2 separate regions of the Homo sapiens genome follow, and region 1 is linked to region 2. Evidence: promoter capture Hi-C in 16 types of primary human blood cells and fetal thymus (Javierre and others, 2016). All regions are on one chromosome and are shown on one strand. The core of a region is centred on a gene start or on the middle of the fragment in contact, and the rest is flanking DNA. Distances in the headings are between cores, read along the strand shown.

Evidence for each region. Contacts are between HindIII fragments. The CHiCAGO score rates a contact against its expected background, and 5 or more counts as called.
Region 1: a contact is called between a fragment that was not itself captured here and the fragment with the promoter of FBXO11 in region 2, in 15 of 17 cell types (total CD4 T cells, total CD8 T cells, naive CD4 T cells and 12 more). The highest score is 18.1, in total CD4 T cells.

The regions. Positions count from the first base shown.
Region 1 is chr2:48,307,215-48,309,914 of GRCh38, reverse strand. No RefSeq gene overlaps it. Among named protein-coding and RNA genes, the nearest start is that of FOXN2, 6.1 kb to the left of the region's middle. The HindIII fragment of the contact is 6,909 bases long and covers 1-2,700 here.
Region 2 is chr2:47,905,248-47,907,947 of GRCh38, reverse strand. FBXO11 (F-box protein 11) reads left to right here and starts at 1,450. Exons shown (of 23, transcript NM_001190274.2): 1 at 1,450-2,459. The coding sequence starts at 2,228. LOC100506235 (a long non-coding RNA gene) reads right to left here and starts at 2,398. Exons shown (of 2, transcript NR_187636.1): 1 at 2,149-2,398; 2 at 1-630. RefSeq lists an enhancer at 504-1,288 and silencers at 1,358-1,457, 1,948-2,137, 2,498-2,617, 2,628-2,677. The HindIII fragment of the contact is 3,894 bases long and covers 345-2,700 here.

The sequences.
Region 1 (2,700 bases), core at 32-2,531, 400 kb before region 2:
ACACACACACACACACACACGAAATAATGGTATATGTCAGGAGAAGGTAAATGGAATCAAGTGTTCTAAAATCAGTGCATTTTCTAGAAGTATGGAAAAAGTGATAGTTAATATTAGACTCTGGTAAGTCAAGAATACATCTTATGAGCTTTAGAATAATCATTGAGAAAATAGTAAGAAACTGTATTAGTCAGGATTCTTCAGAGAAACAGAAGTGGAGGCTTAGTAGCCTAAAAGCTGTAAGGTAGAACAACAGGCTAGAGACAAAGAAGAGTTGCAGTTTGAGTCCAAAAGCAGTCGGCTAGCAGAATTCCTTCTTGCCCATGGGAGATAAATCTTTGTTCTATTAAGGCATTGGATAAGATCTACCCACCTTATGGAAGGTAATCTGCTTTATTAAAGTCTACAGATTTAAATGTTAATCTCATCCAAAAAACACCTTCACAGAAACATTTAGAATAGTGTTTGACCAAACATTTGGCCACCAGTGGCACTGGCAAGTTGATTCATAAAATAAGCCAGGACACTATGCAATTTCCAATCTAATTTGAGCATGTGAGGAAATAAAAAATAATCTAAATGCAAGATAGAAGAGAAATAAGAACATATGATAGAGCAAATAGAAAGTTGTTATAAGATGGTAGACATAAACCCAAATATATCACTAATTACACTAAATGAAAACAGATCATAATTTAATGACAAAGATTGTTTTTGTTGCCTATTGTTATATAACAAACTACCCCAAAATTTAGTAGCTTAGGCCCAGCACGGTGCCTCACACCTGTAATCCCAGCACTTTGGGAGGCTGAGCAGGTGAATCACTTGAGGTCAGGAGTTTGAGACCAGCCTAGCTAACATGGTGAAACCCCATCTCTAATAAAAATGCAAAAAAATTAGCCAAACGTGGTTGTACCCACCTGTAGTCCCAGCTACTCAGGAGGATGAGGCACAAGAATCACTTGAACCAGGAGGTGGAGGTTGCAGTGAGCCCAGATGGTGCCACTGTACTCCAGCCTGGGCAACATAGCAAGACCCTATCTCCAAAAAAAAAAATGTAGTAGCTTAAAATCAAAACCATTTTATTATTTTTCCAGATTCTGTGGGTCAGAAATTTCAACAGGGCATAATGGAGAAGGCTCTCTCTTCTCTGGGTGATGTCCGCTGGGGCTGAAATGTTCTAGATAGCTTCTTCACTCACATGTCTAGCACCTAGCTAGGATGGCTCCAATGGCCGGGGGTTAGAACAGCTTGACTGATATCATATGTGTGGGGCCTTGGTTCTCACAATTGATTGGGTTCTTTGGTTTTTCTACAAGTAGTTCTAGGACTTCTGTTCCACATGGCCAATCCATGTAGCCTCTACAGAAAGATAGCCGACTTCTTACATGCAAGCTCAGAGTTCCCAAGAAGATTAGGTTTAGAACTAACACACTGTCACTTCTGTTACATTCTATCAGATAAAGGAAATAACAGGCCTAGAGTCAAGAGGAGGAAACTACATAAGGGTGTAAATACTAGGAAGTAGGATGAACCTGGGGCCACCAATTGATGTAACCAACTACCACAGATTGTCACTGGGCAAAAATAACCACACGCTCTTTACAAGGGGCATAATCTAGAACATAAAAATACAGAAAGTTTGAAAGTAAAAAATAGAAAAAAAGTAAACCATGCAAAATTACCAAAAGGAAGCTGGAATAGCTAAATTAAGTAGATACTAAGACAAAAAGTACTGGGGCCGGGCACGTTGGCTCACGCCTGTAATCCCAGCACTTTGGGAGGCCGAGGCGGGCGGATCACGAGGTCAGGAGATCGAGACCATCCTGGCTAACACGGTGAAACCCCATCTCTACTAAAAAATACAAAAAAAATTAGCCAGGTGTGGTGGCAGGCACCTGTAATCCCAGCTGCTCGGGAGGCTGAGGCAGGAGAATGGCATGAACCCAGGAGTTGGAGCTTGCAGTGAGCCGAGATCACGCCACTGTACTCCAGCCTGGGCAACAGAGTGAGACTCCGTCTCAAAAAAAAAAAAAAAGACGAAAAGTACTGCTGGAGTGAAAGGGAGACTCTTCATAATAATGAAGACTTAATTTGCCAGGAAGATAAAAATATTCTAAATTTGTATTCCTCCAATAACATAACCTCAAAATATATAAAGCAAAAATTACAGAACTACGAGGAATAAAAAATCCAGAATTTTAGGAGGAGATGTTAACATATTCAGTTACTGATAAAACAGGCAGACAAAAAATTCAGTGACTATGGGTCTGAACAATGCTATTAGCAAAGTTAAGTATAAGGACATATGGAATACTTTTCTACAGTCCTTTACACATGAAGAAATTCATTAGTTTATGTTATTTCTGCTTTGGCTCATGAAGCTGGTAAGGATATCAGAGGATCCTGAGCCTTCAGGCTGCTTAGAATCTATCCCTATTTTACAGATAGACTGTGTACCTTTACCTCATTCATTAAATAAACATATTAACTACTGACTATGTTCCAGGCCCTGCACTTAGTACAGAGATGAAAATAGTAGTTAAAACTACAGACAAGCAAATCAGAAAATATAATTGCAGTATACAAGTGCAGTGATAGAGCTTTACATAAGTAGTAATGGGAATCAAGTCCTAACTCAGCCCTGGGAGATGTCTGAACAAAGATTGAAGAGAGAAGAATATAGAGTAGAGGTAGGAA
Region 2 (2,700 bases), core at 201-2,700:
CCTAGCTAACCACCATAAAAATTTGGAGTTCTCCAGCTGTTTTGTAACAGCTGTCCTCCTCAAATATTTTTTTGAGAAACAAACATAGACCTACGTTTCTCTATTTTTCTGGACTAAAGAGAGATCATCTCAAAATCACAGAACTCTTAAAAATTGAAAACAGGATCATGTAGTCTAAAATAAGTTCTTATTTAAACTTGGGAGGTGAGGGGGGCGGGGCTGACATCTAGAAAGGTGAAGTACTTTGCCTGTAGTCACACACCAAGTCTGGGACTCAACACACAGGCTCGCCTCTTTGCGTCTCTCCCTCCTTCCAAAATACATTTTCCTCCCTCTCAAAAGCTTTATCACGCTTTGTAGTTGCTTAATTATCTATGTCAAACCTAGAGAGCAACTGATGACACTCAGAGACATCGCCCAAAGTTCTGAAAACCAGATAATCAGATAAACTGCCAGTTTTACCACATCCAAAAAATGCACAACAAAAGAGAGAAGGGGGAGAATCGAGAATACATTTTCAGCCGCAAGGCAATAAAAACACGTTTCCCTTGGAGAGAGATTATGTTGGGGGCATCAGGTATAAAGGTAATTCCTGTTGAGGGTTTTTCTTTTCCTTGCAGTTTGTGGGACCTAAAAAAAAAAAATTAAAAATTAAATCACATAAACAATCACAACATCAACACATTTACTTCTCTCCTCTCACATATTATTTTCCCACACATTGTATACACTTCTTCAAAGAACAAATCAAATTGGCCAAAGGTCAAAGCCTTTTCAAGGTTTAGATGATATACGATTAGGCACCGACTCCAAACTTCGCTTACCAAGCCCAAAGCTCGGAGACGGAAATCTTCAGGGTTTGCAAATACCCTCAGCTTGGCTAAAGGGCACGAAATCTCTAGCGCTCCCTACAGCTCAGATTTTGAACCCACCTACCACAGAAAACCCGAGTTACCAAAGATTGGCTCCCTCGTTCCACTTTTTTTTCAGCTCAAAAAAATCGGGTGAAGGTTGGGGTAGGGGGGAAGCTGAAACGGCGAACCGAAGGATTAATCACTTCTCCCCATTACATCAGCAACCCCCGCCCTTTCCTCCGAGCACCTCCTCTCCCAGAATCGTCGCTACGCACTGGCGCTCTCTTCGCCCACCCCCTGCTCTATTATTTGCCCTGATACCTCCCCATTATCACCCGCCCCGCCACACTCCCCCTTTCCTCTTTCCCCCTCCTAGGCGGGGGAGGGAGGAAACCCGAGAGAGGAAACAGGGCGTTGAAGGGACTTCGCGATAAGAGCGGAGGCCCCATTGGCCGGAAGGTTGTACGGGCGCCTTAGATTGGCCGCCTGGACGGAATCCCCGCCCCTCCTTTCCCCGCCCACCCACCCCTCCCCCCGCCGCCCCGCGGCCCTCCCCCGCGCCCCCGGCCAGCCCCGCGGCGGGGAGGGACCGACTGGGCGAGTGGAGGCTCCGGCGGTGTCAATGGCTCCTCCTGCCACGGAGCAGCAGCAGAAGCAGCGGCGACAGGGCTGACGAGGAGGAGGAGGAAAGGTTCCTTTAAGGAGGAGGAAGGACGACGCCTCTTTTTCCCCCTATCTCCTCCCTTCACACTCATTTCCCCTTCGCCGAGGAGAGAAGGGGGGGAGGAGAGAGAAGAGACCGAAGAAAGAGAGAAAAATTCCTCACAGAAATCTCTTTCAGGGGGTGTGGGGGGGAGGAAGAGGGAAAAAAAAGAGCCGGGCGCCCCCTGCTCCCTCCCTCCCTTCTCTCCCTCTCTTTTTCTCCCTTCCTCACCCGCCCGCCCACTCCCCCCGCTGCCGGAGACGCCGCTCGCGAGTCGGCGGGACCGGGATCTGTCTCTTCAGCCGCCGCCGCCGCCGCCGCCGCGCTTCGCCTCGGGATCCCCAAGCGGCGGACGCCCTTTCTTTCTTTCTCTCGGTCTGCCCGTCTTTCTGCCTTCGTCCCTCGCGGCCGCCCCGCCCGGCGGCTTCGGCCTTCCCCGTGCGTCAGGCCCTCCCGGCCGGCCTCGCTCGGTCTCCGTCTGTCTACCCGGGCCTTTCTCCGGACTCGGGGTCCCGCTCGCCCCCTCCGCCCTCAGCGTCTCCCCTTCCCCTCGCCCCCTCTCCTTCCTCCCCCCTCTCCCACTCTCCCCACCCCTTTCTCCTGCCCCGAAGCTCGCTGTGCGTGTGCGTGTGTGTGTCCCTCCGCCAACGCCGCCACCTCAGCCCGGCAAATGAACTCCGTCCGAGCCGCCAACCGGAGACCCAGGCGAGTGTCGCGGCCGCGCCCGGTGCAGCAACAGCAGCAGCAGCCCCCGCAGCAGCCGCCGCCGCAGCCGCCCCAGCAGCAGCCGCCCCAGCAGCAGCCTCCGCCGCCGCCGCAGCAGCAGCAGCAGCAGCAGCCTCCGCCGCCGCCACCGCCGCCTCCGCCGCTGCCTCAGGAGCGGAACAACGTCGGCGAGCGGGGTAAGGCCGCGCTACCTCCCAACCGCCCGCCTTCCCGGGCACCGCGGGAAGGGAGGCCGGGGCGGGCGGGCGGGCGGGCGGGCGGGGGCGGCCTGCGCGCCCTGGGGGTGGGAGACCCAAGCTGAGCGGAGGCGGGTCCCCCGGTGCCGCAGTGTCAGCCCGGGCCGGGCCCGGCCGGCAGGAAAAGCCGCGGCTTCCCTTCTCGCCTGGGCTCTCGCTCAGGCCGCGCTTTGTTTGGTTT